Linked DNA regions of Homo sapiens: all the other regions are linked to region 1. The links are contacts of gene promoters, found by promoter capture Hi-C in blood cells and fetal thymus (Javierre and others, 2016). All regions are on one chromosome and are shown on one strand. Each heading gives the region's core, a stretch centred on a gene start or on the middle of the fragment in contact. The rest is flanking DNA. Distances are from core to core; before and after follow the strand shown.

What was found. Contacts are between HindIII fragments. The CHiCAGO score rates a contact against its expected background, and 5 or more counts as called.
Region 2: a contact is called between a fragment that was not itself captured here and the fragment with the promoter of TWIST1 in region 1, in 1 of 17 cell types (M2 macrophages). The highest score is 5.2, in M2 macrophages.
Region 3: a contact is called between a fragment that was not itself captured here and the fragment with the promoter of TWIST1 in region 1, in 6 of 17 cell types (megakaryocytes, M2 macrophages, M0 macrophages and 3 more). The highest score is 20.8, in megakaryocytes.
Region 4: a contact is called between a fragment that was not itself captured here and the fragment with the promoter of TWIST1 in region 1, in 1 of 17 cell types (megakaryocytes). The highest score is 7.0, in megakaryocytes.
Region 5: a fragment that was not itself captured here is called in contact with the fragment with the promoter of TWIST1 in region 1 in 1 of 17 cell types (megakaryocytes); the score reaches 5.7 in megakaryocytes.

The regions. Positions count from the first base shown.
Region 1 is chr7:19,116,383-19,119,261 of GRCh38, reverse strand. TWIST1 (twist family bHLH transcription factor 1) reads left to right here and starts at 1,626. Exons shown (of 2, transcript NM_000474.4): 1 at 1,626-2,591. The coding sequence starts at 1,941. The coding sequence ends at 2,549. RefSeq lists enhancers at 1-479, 1,553-2,336, 2,360-2,619. The HindIII fragment of the contact is 6,123 bases long and covers 1-2,879 here.
Region 2 is chr7:18,585,110-18,587,809 of GRCh38, reverse strand. HDAC9 (histone deacetylase 9) reads right to left here. Exons shown (of 26, transcript NM_178425.4): 3 at 2,288-2,529. Among named protein-coding and RNA genes, the nearest start is that of HDAC9, 91 kb to the right of the region's middle. The HindIII fragment of the contact is 848 bases long and covers 915-1,762 here.
Region 3 is chr7:19,670,110-19,672,869 of GRCh38, reverse strand. No RefSeq gene overlaps it. Among named protein-coding and RNA genes, the nearest start is that of MIR3146, 34 kb to the left of the region's middle. The HindIII fragment of the contact is 2,220 bases long and covers 230-2,449 here.
Region 4 is chr7:19,649,813-19,652,542 of GRCh38, reverse strand. All of the region lies in intron 4 of LOC105375180 (a long non-coding RNA gene), which reads right to left. Among named protein-coding and RNA genes, the nearest start is that of MIR3146, 54 kb to the left of the region's middle. The HindIII fragment of the contact is 250 bases long and covers 1,206-1,455 here.
Region 5 is chr7:18,346,788-18,349,487 of GRCh38, reverse strand. It overlaps a transcript of HDAC9 not described here. Among named protein-coding and RNA genes, the nearest start is that of HDAC9, 150 kb to the left of the region's middle. The HindIII fragment of the contact is 5,296 bases long and covers 1-2,700 here.

The sequences.
Region 1 (2,879 bases), core at 377-2,876:
CACCCTGAGGTTTCCAAGACCAAAGCTGCGAGTCTCAGCAGGGAACAGCCACGTGGCCTGCCTGCGCCTCGCCTGGGCTCTTGCCTTCAGCTTGAGATATCTGCAGCCGCGAACCTTGCTCCAGCCCAGAAAGGGGCGCTTTGCTCAATTAATTGTTCCCGCCGGCGAGTCCGTACTGAGAAGCCCATGAGCGGACCTTATGTGCAGGGTACTCCAGCGCGGTGCACAAAACTCGTCGCCCCCAAACGCTGCCCCCACCCCAACACTGTGTACTGACTCCAGCTTTTTACTTTGCCATGTAAGGGATGGACCTGAAACGGTTATTTTACCTCAATTCATTTCAAAAAGGAAACAAGTATGGCATTGCAAAAGATGGGCTTCTTATCCAAGGCGACTTCCTTTCTGGTTCACCAACTTTGCTGCTTCCAGTTTGCCAGGATCTACATTAACACCCTCTTTGGGGCTCTTCGTTTTAACTTACAGACAGAAATGCTTAAAATGTTAGCGTATCCAAGCATTTGGAATTGGGGCTCACGAAGCCTAATTGTCCACTGGATGCCCTAGATAGTGGGGGCTGGGGCGGGGGGGGTCTCAGAGCGGGCAGCCCCTATGTCTAGGCGCTATCAAATTCCCACTTCACTCTCTTACAAGCTGGCCTTTCAAGGTCACAATGCGGAGCCTAATTTGGGGGTGGGGATGAAATGGCCACAGGGTCTCTCCCTTGGGTTGGCATTGCCAGCTGTTAGGGCCGCAGCAAAGGCGCTGCGCTGCCCCCCTCTGGCTCTGCTGCCTTTCCCATGGACTGGGTTTCCTTCCACCGAAGAGTGAACTTCTGCCTCTTTCGAGCACCTTCCGAGGCGTAGTCCTTTGGATGTTGGGGAGCGTCAGACTGGGTCGTTGTAGAGGGGAAAGGAGGGCCCAGAAGGGCGAGAGAGCAGGCCGGGACGCAAATCCTCAGCCCCCGCGGCGCGGCCACGTCTTCAGAAACGCCCAGGACCTCCGGGCTGGGCCGCCGCGGTTTGGCCTTTGGAACTCCAAGGGGTTCGTCTACCTGACCATTGGGTGGGCTCCGCGGTTGACACTTTTCTTGGCATGCCCCCCCACCCCGCGCCACACCACCCCCCCAGCCCCAGCAATCCCAAATCGGCCCCACGGACCTAGAGGGCTCTTGGGCGAGATGAGACATCACCCACTGTGTAGAAGCTGTTGCCATTGCTGCTGTCACAGCCACTCCGGATGGGGCTGCCACCGCGGCCAGGACAGTCTCCTCCGACCGCTTCCTGGGCTGCGCTAGGGTTCGGGGGCGCTGCCCGCACGCTCCGGCGGGGAAGGAAATCGCCCCGCGCCCGCCGGAGGAAGGCGACGGGGAGGGAAGGGGGAGGGCGGCTAGGAGGCGGGTGGAGGGGCCGGCCGCCCGGGCCAGGTCGTTTTTGAATGGTTTGGGAGGACGAATTGTTAGACCCCGAGGAAGGGAGGTGGGACGGGGGAGGGGGACTGGAAAGCGGAAACTTTCCTATAAAACTTCGAAAAGTCCCTCCTCCTCACGTCAGGCCAATGACACTGCTGCCCCCAAACTTTCCGCCTGCACGGAGGTATAAGAGCCTCCAAGTCTGCAGCTCTCGCCCAACTCCCAGACACCTCGCGGGCTCTGCAGCACCGGCACCGTTTCCAGGAGGCCTGGCGGGGTGTGCGTCCAGCCGTTGGGCGCTTTCTTTTTGGACCTCGGGGCCATCCACACCGTCCCCTCCCCCTCCCGCCTCCCTCCCCGCCTCCCCCGCGCGCCCTCCCCGCGGAGGTCCCTCCCGTCCGTCCTCCTGCTCTCTCCTCCGCGGGCCGCATCGCCCGGGCCGGCGCCGCGCGCGGGGGAAGCTGGCGGGCTGAGGCGCCCCGCTCTTCTCCTCTGCCCCGGGCCCGCGAGGCCACGCGTCGCCGCTCGAGAGATGATGCAGGACGTGTCCAGCTCGCCAGTCTCGCCGGCCGACGACAGCCTGAGCAACAGCGAGGAAGAGCCAGACCGGCAGCAGCCGCCGAGCGGCAAGCGCGGGGGACGCAAGCGGCGCAGCAGCAGGCGCAGCGCGGGCGGCGGCGCGGGGCCCGGCGGAGCCGCGGGTGGGGGCGTCGGAGGCGGCGACGAGCCGGGCAGCCCGGCCCAGGGCAAGCGCGGCAAGAAGTCTGCGGGCTGTGGCGGCGGCGGCGGCGCGGGCGGCGGCGGCGGCAGCAGCAGCGGCGGCGGGAGTCCGCAGTCTTACGAGGAGCTGCAGACGCAGCGGGTCATGGCCAACGTGCGGGAGCGCCAGCGCACCCAGTCGCTGAACGAGGCGTTCGCCGCGCTGCGGAAGATCATCCCCACGCTGCCCTCGGACAAGCTGAGCAAGATTCAGACCCTCAAGCTGGCGGCCAGGTACATCGACTTCCTCTACCAGGTCCTCCAGAGCGACGAGCTGGACTCCAAGATGGCAAGCTGCAGCTATGTGGCTCACGAGCGGCTCAGCTACGCCTTCTCGGTCTGGAGGATGGAGGGGGCCTGGTCCATGTCCGCGTCCCACTAGCAGGCGGAGCCCCCCACCCCCTCAGCAGGGCCGGAGACCTAGGTAAGGACCGCGCCGCTGCACCCCTTCGCCTCTCAGGTGGCAGACGGCAGGCCGGCCAGGCCGCGGTTCCCAGTCCACCTCGATTTCCTCCCCTCTCCCACTCTCCGCTCAGCCTTCCCACCTCACTTGGCACCGTTGCCTCGCGCCCCCAGCGTCCCCGGAAGGCCGGTCTGACCCCGCTAGGGAGAGCAGTCTCCAGGGGGATGCGCCCTGGTGAGGGGTGTGTGTGCGCGTGAGTGTGCGTGACAGGAGGGGAGACAGAGACACCCAGGGTCACGGGTAAGGACC
Region 2 (2,700 bases), core at 89-2,588, 530 kb after region 1:
ACAATAGAAAGAAATAAAACTTTAGCCCTCTATTGCTAGATGTTCTGGCCCATGAGAGAGGCAGGGCAACTTAAGAGCTTTGGAGGCAGACAGGGCAAGACTGTAAATCTTGGAGCAACAATTTATTGGCTATGTAGCCTTGGAAAGGTATCATTATTTTTCTCTACCTCAGTTCACTAGGTGGAAAAATGGAATAACAGCATCTAACTCAACAAATGTTGATTATTACAGAAGCTAACGATTCAAAAAGCTAATATAAATAAAGCATCATGTAATGCATCTTTCTCATAAAAATAAAATCTTAATGAAAAGCATCAACTTTTAGCTTTATCCATAAAAAATACAAGACAAAACAAAATAAAAATTCTAAAAATCAAAAAACTTCCTAATCTGAAAAAGTAATATTAATTATGTCTTTGGTTTCTAAGAAAACAAATTATTATTTTGGAAAATCATTTTAAAAGCTAAATTTTCCTTTTAGCTATCTCATAATTCTTTTTTCTCACAGGAGCCACTTTTCCAATATTTTCCAGATGTCAATAAACCAACACTATTGTTTTGCTTGTGCCAAATGAACAATTAATTATCTACTTGCTACTATTACCTTTTGAGTAAAATTAAGCAATAAATTTCTTTCTAAACAATTTATATTAACTTTATAGCTATCAAAGGCAGCAATATAAATGAAAAGAAGTATCTAAAGCAGTAACTTATCAGTATTGCCCTGTATTTAGGGAAACATGTCTCACTTAAAGCAGCAAAATGAACTACACAGTCCCTTACATCTTAAAGTATGGTGAAAAATGTACATTTTACTCATTTCTCTTTGCCATCTTAACATGCTGGAAGGAAAGAAACAGATCTAGATATCAATGTTTCTATTATTGTTTCAAAGGTCAAATTTAAATAAAGCTTCAGTATTCATTCAAAAATAAGTCTAAAAACTAAAGAAAGGCTACCCATACTTCAAAATGTAGCCATGAGCTACTGATTCCATTTGGGACAAAAGAAAATACTCTCACTTTAAGGTATTTTGTACATCAATAATATACAAGAGTTCTTTTTGGAAAGTTCACTACTAAAAGAAATAAATATATTTTATATCACTTGTCAAAGAGCCTTTTTAGGAATATACGATAATAAAGTTCTTTTAGGATTAAGAAACATCTTGTAAACCAAGTAATATAGAGAAGAAGATAGCATTTTTACTTCCTTAGAAACTGTCATATTAATGTGGTAAAATTACATACTAGTAACATCAGTTATCTGTATCAACCCTCTATCAATGTGCTTGTACTTGATATGCAAGTAATAAAGTTCCTATAATACAAAACAATAAAGTATGAGATAACATAATTTATTACATTCACAAATTAGCAAGTGTTTGTCATCTTTGAAAGTTAGATATAAAAATAAAATTTTTGTTGTAAATCTTTGCTGCTTTTCTGTCACAATAAATTCAAATTAAATAGCCTTGTTTCAACTGTCTTTGTCAAGAAGTTGCAAGATGTTTTACAAATAAAGCTAAAGTAATATTTATCTCTGAAGATACAAAATTTAAAAAAACAGACACATCTAATATTATTAGATAATAAAATAAGTTATTATTAAAAATTCTGGAATATGGATATATTTGTGCTAAAATAATTTAAACAACTTTAGTCTCAAATTGTCAACTACTCCCAAATACTTTCAATAAATTCTTATCTACAGTCTATAAAAACATTTGCACCAGTTTCTCCATTTATAACTCCCTTAAGCTTTTTATTATACTATTATTTTGAATGTGTACATTATGAGATCTTTTCTATAAGGAAGAGTCGGACATACTCAGAACATCTACTTATACACCATGTTTGTTTTTTAAAAACAGCTCTCTTCATATAAGGTGACTAATTTATCCTTTCTCACAAATAGTACATGTAGACTCTTCAGAAATGAAATATGAAATGGGTCTTCTAGGCTCATGCTTCTTCTTGGTGGAGAGCAGATGGGGCAAATGAACAAAATCACGTAGGAGAGAATCTAAAATTAGGATAGGAAGTTACTATTCCCTGCTATTGATTCTATGTGCTAAAGGATAAAGAAGGTCCCTCTGAGAAGCAAAACAGGTTTTTAACAGGTACTTACCCAAAGTTTTCACTAGTAAAATCACAATTCCCTTCAAGCCATATATCCATGTCTTAATCACAGTGAATCTACCCGCAAAGTGTTCCCATGGGCACTGTTCATGCCCACCACGGTGCAGACTCCTGAGTAAGGTCACAGACAAAGAAGCATTTGCTACCTTGATATGCTCCTGAAGCTGAGCCTGGTGCTGCCGTGTCAAGTTCTCATGCTGTTTCTGAAACTCTGCTATCAGAAGCTGCTTCTGGATTTGTTGCTGCTGCTGGATAAGAAGTAATTCCTGCTGCAATTGCTTCTCACGGACAACAGGGTCCACCACGGGCATCATCATCCTGAGGTCTGTCCTTAGGTCTAAAGGTGAGATGGGCTCCAGGCCCACAGGAACTTCTGACTTCACATCCACTAAAGAACCAGAAAAAAAGGGAAATGGGGTGGGGGAGGGTAATAGAAGATTGGAAATTAGCACATTGATTTGGAAACAAATAAAAAGTATAAGACCCTGTACAACAAATTTTATGCCAATGACTCTAGCCATTTCTTTACAATGATGATATAAAGTCATTTGTACATTAG
Region 3 (2,760 bases), core at 90-2,589, 550 kb before region 1:
GGCTACATTTTACTTTGTAAGAAACTGTCAAGCTGTCTTCCAAATTTGTTGTACCATTTTACATTCACATCAGCAATGGACTTTCTGTTGCTCTGCAACCTTATCAGTAATTAGTATTGTCAGGGTTTTTATTTTATTTTATTTTAGACATTTTAATGTGTGCAGTCATATCTCATGGTTGTTTTAATTTGTATATCCCTAATGTATATTGAGTATCTTTTCATAAGCTTATTTGCCATCCGTCTATCTCTTTGGAGAGGTGTCTATTTAGATCTTTTGCCCAATTTGTTCATTGAGAGGCTTTTAAAAAAATCTTAACTTGATGGGAATTTTATTAGAATTCCATTAAAGGAAGATTTAACATCTCAGTAATATTACACCTTCAAATTCATTAATATAGAATATCTCTCAATTTACTTATATCTATGATTTCTTCATTCAATGTTTTGCAGTTTCTGCATTCAGATGGTATTCATACTTAGTTAGAATTATATCTACAAGTATTTCATTTCTGGCACTATTGTAAATGTATTGTTTAATTTTAAGTTCCAATGTTCACTGATGGTGTATAGATAAGAAAGTGGCTTTTATATATTCACTTTATAATCTGTGACCTTGCTGTATTAACCTATTGGTTGCAGAAATTATTGCGTAGATTATTTGAAATTTCTGCATAGGCAATCATGTCATTTCCAAATAAAAACAGCTTTTTTCAATATGCATACCTTTTCTTTCTTATTTTAGTGCTCTAAATAGAGCTTCCCTTATGACGCTGACTATGACTGCTGTGAAAGGACATCCTTACATTTTCCCAAACTTAGGGAAAAAGCATTCAGTCTTTCAACATTAAGTATTAATTGTTTCAAAAAGAGGCTTGTTTCAGAATGGTGGTATGTAGATTTTTTTTTTGCATAACTCTTATTTTTTCTAGCAAAAAAATTTTAGAAAATTTTCTCTATTCTTAGTTTGCTTAAAAATTTTATCATGAATTGGATTTTTTTCAAACGTTTTTCCTGCATCAGTGTATGATTATATCCTTTTTCTTTTATATCCTTTGACAAGTCAGATTATGTTGAATGGTTTTTAATGTTGAACAAGGCTTGTCCATATTGAATAAATCCCACTTCATCCAGGTGTATCTTTTTATATTATTAGATTCAACTTGCTAATATTTAGTTGAAGATTTTTGAGTATATGTTCATTAGAGATACTGGTCTGTAGTTTTTCTATTATGTTAGGTCTCTATCTGGCTTTGAAATTAGGGTAACACTGGCCTCATAGAATAAGAGTATTCTTTATGCTTATTTTTTATGGAAGACATTGTGGAGAATTAGTATTATTTCTGACTAAATGTTTGTTAAAATTCACCAGTGAAACCAACTGGGCCTGGTGTTTTATTTTGGAAGGTTATTAATTATTGGTTAAATTTCCTTAATATACTTAGGGCTACTGAGGTTATTGCTTTCTCTTTGGGTATGTTTTTCAAGACATTTATTCATTTCATTTAAGCTATCAAATGTATGGACATAGAGTGTTCATAGTATAACTTTGTTATAATTTTAATGTCAGTGAAATCTGTAGTGGTGACCCTTCTTTCATTTCTGAGACTAACTGCAGCATTTCCAAACAATTTTCTTGAAGCCCTGACGCCTATTGACTATGTCTTCTCCCCTCTCTTTGGTGAGACAGGAAGCCTGGAAGGAGGGCTGAAGTGGGAATAATACCTTGGGGTAAACTACAGCCCAGTCTTTTCTCCCAGAGATTAGGCCTTTATTATGGAGAAGGTTCTCAGAATACTTCAGAATGATTAATACTTCCTTTCTCTGCTAGAGCCACAAGGAATCTTTCTTGGATCTTCATCATATAAACATGCTGTGATTCCTGGAGGCTGCCCTATGACTATGACCTCCAGTAGTTTCTCATATCACACCAGTCCACACTCCATCTCCAGCAATTCATTAAAATGACCATAAAATATTTCTATCAGATTATGACTCCAAGGTAAGCGGATCTTGGCTGTGTCTCTCTGGATGTGTCTGTCTCTCCAGATTTCAGGGTGGAGGTTTGTCCTACAACCTCAGTTGTCTGATGGGTCCAAGGAAAGTCTTGATTTTCAGTTTATCCTTCTTTTTCACGATGTAAGGGTAGGAGTGACAACTTTCAAGCTCTATATATGTCAGGGTTGAAACTGGAAGTCTACTAGTTGATTTAAGTTGCAAAGACATTTCAATAAAGTAAGGACTGTCCTTTGAACACATGGTATTGGAACAATTTTATATAAATCAGTCAGAACACCTCAATCTAAATCTCACACCCTATATAAAATATTAACTCAAAATAGATACATCTAAACAAAAAATTTCAAACTATAAATTTTTTGAATAAAACATAAGTGAACATTTTCCTGACATTGATTTAAGCAGTGTTTTTATGTATGGCACTAAAAGCTTGATCCACAGAGAAAATAAAACCTAAGCTGGATTTTATGAGAATTTAAAACTTTCTTGTAAATTTTTAAATTTGCTTTCTGAAAGACATTTTTCAGAGACTGATAAGACAAGCTCTAGACTGGGAGAAAGCACAGTCGCTTCTTGTTATTTGCGCTGGTTATGTGCTATAAAGTACCATGAACAATGAATTGGTGAGTACCGAATAATTGCTTCTGGAGGAAATACATGGTTAATTCTCTGGTCACAATATTTTCATTAACTGATCAATACACATCCTTGTTATATGTTTGTTTCTGTTTAAATATGCCTT
Region 4 (2,730 bases), core at 81-2,580, 530 kb before region 1:
TGGTCATTTGAAGGAAAGAAGACACTCTGGCTTTTTGCATTGCCAGAGTTTTTGCACTGGTTCTTTCTAATTTTGTAAGCTGATTTTCCTTTAATTTCCAGGTAATTTGAGTACAGTCAGTAGATCTTTTTTCTGGATGTTTTCAGACAGTCAAGGCTTTGTGCAGGGTCCTTATCTGTAGCTGAATTTTTGTCCTTGTTTTCACAGGGGTGTACATTAGCAAAGCATTTTTGGTGTCAAAGTTTGGGCTGCAATCCTGTAGACAGTGTTTGGGCATAATGGTTAGTAGGTAGGTTCTTGCTCAGCCACCTGGGTTCTCTGTATTACCTCATGATTGCAGCCATGCTCCCTCTCAACGCTCTCAAACTGTGGGCTCCTCTCTCATTTGAGTGCTGTCTGCATATCTTGGCTTAGCGCTCTTGAGCTGCACACTGCAGCTCTGGGGTGAGCTTATACTTTATGTTCCCTCTGCAGCTTGGAGGCAGGAGGGGAAGGGATGTTGGTAGTGGATGTGGCAGAGGGTCTTTTACTTGTCTCTTGGGGTTCCACCCCAGAGAAATGCAGAGCCACTATAAATAACTCTGACTGGCCCAAGGTGGGGGCGCCTTCTCTGTGGGCCCAATCTGAGGGGACTCTGCCTGGTGATGAACATGGGGTACAGAGGGGTCATGAAGACAGACTGGCCTCATCTCCTTACGGTCACTGCAGCTTGCTGGAGGTGTGCTTAAAGCACTAAGGATCTTTGCCCTTTCCCCAGTCCAAGGGTAAAAATAGCAGTGCCACTGCAGTGGTACTGGCAGAGGGGCTTTCAGTTGTCCCTGGGTCTAGCTCAGAGAAATGTAGAGCAACTGCTACCAGAAATGTTCAGTGAGAGGGTAGAGAGGCTGCACTGCTGCCTGAGTCAGGGGCTCTTCTTGGTGAAGAGCCAGGGTTGACGGCTCTCAGAGAGAAGAGACAGAGCTCCTCTCCATACAGTGACTGTGGCATGCTGGAAGTACAAGTGAAACCCTTGCACTTGCAAGTGGTTCAGCAGGAACAGAACCATTGCTGTGTTAGTGGCAGAGAGGCTGTTGGTTGCCTCTGGGGGCCCCTTCCCAGGGAATCACACAGCCAATACCAGTGGGTAAGCTCAGCCAGGGATGGGACAACTGTTTTGTGGTCCCAAGTTGGGGCCTCTGCATTCTGAAGAGTGGAGTATGGAAGCTTACAAGGAAGAGAGGCTGGACTCCTCTCTGTATGGCAGCTGCCGAGTGGTGGAGGTTCCAGCATAGCAACCAGGCCTTTTGTTCCTTCTCCAGCCCAATGGTGGTTAGGGCAGTACTACGGCCGCTGCAATGGCAGAGGGGCTATGGGTTGTCTGTGTGATTACCTCCTCAGAGAAATGCAGAGCCATCTCTGACTAAAGTGTTTGGGTAAGGGCAGGGTAGTTGTGCTAGAGTCCTAGGTCAGGAAGCTTTGACCAGTGAAGAGAAGTGGGAACGGGGACCCATGTGGAAAACAGTCTGGCCAGTTTTCTGTGGGGCAGCTTTGCTGTGCTGAGGGATCTGTGCCAATTCCTAATCACCGTGCTCCACCCAGGGCCTGAGGGCAACAATGGTGAGGGTTGTAGGACAGCAAGAATGGCCACCTGCATCTCTGGGAACTCTGTCCCAGGGAAGTACAGAGCTGCTACTGGCCTGAGAGCCCAGCCGAGGGTTGGCTGGAGTCCTAGGTTGGGAGGCTCTGTCCAGTGAGGAAAAGCAGAAATGAGGACCTGCATTGAAAACAGTCTGGTCACTTTTCTTTGGGGTGGCTTCACTGTGCTAGGGATCCACTCCAATCCCTAATTACCATGCTCACTCCAGAGCCTCAGGGCAACAGTGGTGAGGGGTGTGAGAGAGCAAAAATAGCAGCCTGCCTTTCCCTCTGGGAGCTCTGTCTCAAGGAAGTTCAGAGCTGCTACCAGCTTGAGAGCCCAGGTGGGGCAGAGGAGGGCACACTATGGTCCCAGTCCAGAGGGCTTTATCCCAAGAGGGCCAGTAGAGGCAAACTCTGCAGTCTGTCATGGCTCAGCCCCCAGGATTTGGCTCCTTTTTTCAGGGTATGCAAGGGAGCCTGACCTCCCCCATAGCTGGAGCTGGAGCCACTAATGCTGGGATGCCTGGGGATCCAAGGCACCTGGGACTCCATGTGTGCCTGAGTGGTGGCCTTGCCCAGACTCCATGTAGCTCTCCATGTCAGTCTGGAGGACTTGGAGTGGGGACTCATGCGGGAATCTCCTGAGCCCAGGGTTGCAAAGCTCCGTGGCAGAAGTGTGGGTCCCTGGGGACTCTCACTCACTTACAATTTCCCTACTATAGAGGGACCTACCCTGGCTTTGTGCCACTCCTGGGTGGGCAGTTGTCCTGTCTCGCTCCTCTCTGTTCTCCATGGGTCGAATTGTTTCCTTGATTAATCCCATTGAGTCCACTTGGACATTCCAGCAGAAGAGGTTGTATTTACTCACAATTGTTTCTCTCTCAGTGAGAACAGTGCACACTAGCTGCTTCTAGTCAGCCATCTTTACTCTTCTCAAATGCTTTTTATCTTTTCCTTTCTCTGTCTTGTCTTCTGTGAATTCTATAACGTGCATATTGGTATGCTTGATAGTGTCCCATAAGTCCCTTTGTGTCTTCATTTTTCTTTCTTTTTTCTTTCTTCTCCTCAGGCTGGATAATTTTATTTTAGCTATCTTTAAGTGCCCCAATTCTT
Region 5 (2,700 bases), core at 109-2,608, 770 kb after region 1:
TCTCAGGCACTAACATTATACTGGGAGAAAGAAAAAATAAAGAAAACTATATTAGATGTTAAGATGTTAGCTGTTGATCACTGCTATAGAGAAAAAATAAGCCAGCAAGGAGGAAGGGCAATATCTGTGTGTGTGTGTGTGTGTGTGTGTGTGTGTGTGTGTGTGTGTGTGTGTGTGTGTAGATGTTCTCAAGTATGGGAGGTCATCTGGAAAGACATCTCTAATGAGGTCAGGGAGAGGTGCACAGCTTACCTAAGGCAAGACAGTTTCAAGCACAGGGACCAACAAATGCAAAAGCCTTAGAACATGAAAGACATACGGTGCAGTGCTTTGTAGGCCTTAGTAAGTAAAGAAGCTGAATTTTACTCTGAGTGACAGAAAACCATTAGGAAGCCAATGGGAGAAATTCATGTTCTCATATTGGGAAAATGACTGTATTAAAGTTATGGGAATAGCTTATAGTGGACAGAACTTGGGCTTGAAGACAGATATACAGGTATTAAAATAATTTCTGTTCTTCACAGCATCATACCTATAAGATGCTGTCTCAATTACTGAGTTCTGTGTTCTCAGACTCCATTTAAATAGTCATAATACCTAAACTGCACTACTACTGTGAAGATTAAATAATACAAGCAGCATCCAGGACTGTGCCTGGATTACAGTAAGTGCTTAACAAATAGTAGCTGTAATTTTAATAGTGTTGCAAGAAGTTGAAATATGTGAGTTTAAGTAGGAAATACACCAATTTTAAAAGGGCTAAAGAGAAGGCAGAAGGAGAAAGTTTGTGTTAGGAGATTTTGGATCCTAAAAGTTGTTAAAGGATTCTTTACCTCTAAATACATCTCCAAAAGATGCCAGTAAGAACCACAGCTCAGAACAACAGATGTGTGATTGCATAATGAAATCTTGGTGTATAGTAAAAATACCTAATAGAAATAATTAAATTATGACCCCTACAGTATAATAGATGCCTAAAAACAGTGGTATTTTTCAGAAAAATTAAGCATTTCTTGGGGCATATCTAATTGAACCTTCCCAAAAATCCATGAGTAAGGTATTATCCTCATTTTTTAAATGAGAAACTGAGATTCAGAAAGGGTAAAAGACAAGTTCAAAAATCACACATGTAGTAAGTGTGCTCAAATCTGGTCCATAGTATAAATGCTCAATAAGTGTTGATAGCTAAGCATTTCCTAAATGAACATACGAATCTATACTCCATATCTTACCTCTTAATCGCTGACATTGCCTCTATAATTAATTAAATCAGATAAATGTTTCCCAAATTCTCCTGATCATAAGAATTACCTGGGGTGCTTGTGCTTTTCATGTCCAACTGCAGGACCCAAAATATTTTGTGGAGCAGCCTAGAAACTGATATTTTAAACCAGCAATTCAAGAGATCCTAATGATGAGGGAATTTTGAGAAACAGTTGCTAGTTACTGCATGATCCGTCTTTCAACTCCAAAATTTGCTACCTACTTCTCTCTTAAAATTAAAAGCAAGAATCTATGACTGTCAACCCTTTATCTATTTCAAAACTCAATACTTATCATCTACTTTGTAAAAACAGAGGGCACTGAGATACAGATTAAAAACATACTGCCGGCCAGGTGCAGTGGCTCGTGCCTGTTATCCCAGCACTTGGGGAGGCCGAGGTGGGTGGATCATCTGAGGTCAGGAGTTTGAGAACCCCATCTCTACTAAAAATACAAAAAATTAGCCGGGCGTGGTGGCATACACCTTGTAGTCCAGCTACTCGGGAGCCTGAAGCAGGAGAATCACTTAAATCTGGGAGGCAGAGGTTACAGTGAGCCGAGATTGCATTCCAGCTTGGGCAACAGACTGAGACTCTGTCTAAAAAATAAAATAAAATAACGTAAGATAAAATAAAATAAATAAGAACATGTTGCAGTTTATCAACTTGGTCTAAGATCCCTTTGTTTAACTGAATAGGAATAAACACAATTTACATGGGAGTTGTTGTTTTTGTTAGTTTTGTTTTCCCATTAGTGGTAGAAATCTAAGCAAATGTCTAAGTAAGGATGTTCTAGTATTAAAACTTTCTGCATGGACTCATTATGAAAAACATCCTCCCCTAAGCCTCCCCAGGGAGTCATAATGGGGTTCCCATAGTATCTAGAAACCTTACTTCATGTTTTATTTCTTGGCTGCACAACTAAGAGTGTTGCTAATGAAGTGCTCATTTTCCTTCACTTTCTGCTAAGAGTGGGAAAATTTATAATATGCTTTAAAAATACACATAGCTACATATTCTAGCAATTGTTGAGTGGTGTGTACTTTGCAGTGCTGGTAACTAGGATTGGAAAATGTTACATTAATACGGTGAATTTTATTTTTCACCAAGTATTGTGTTCTAAAAAGAGTTACTGTGAAATATTCATTCAGTATGGTGCAGAAAACAAATATGAACAACTTTTAAAACCCCCATCCCATGGTACAATATAAAGAAATTGATGCATAGATGTCTTATTTCCTTTGTGCCGCCAGCCTCTCCTATGAATGCCACACCCATGAATTAGGAAAGACTGAACAGATCATTTTAGACCTAGAAAACAAAGTGGTGGATTGGCTATTCCACTTTCCTCAGATGAAGAAAAATGACCTGCACTCTCAGCTTCTGGCTCCCAACCAAACAATGGGAAATTTTCTCCTGTTGCTATGAGATTTTGGTG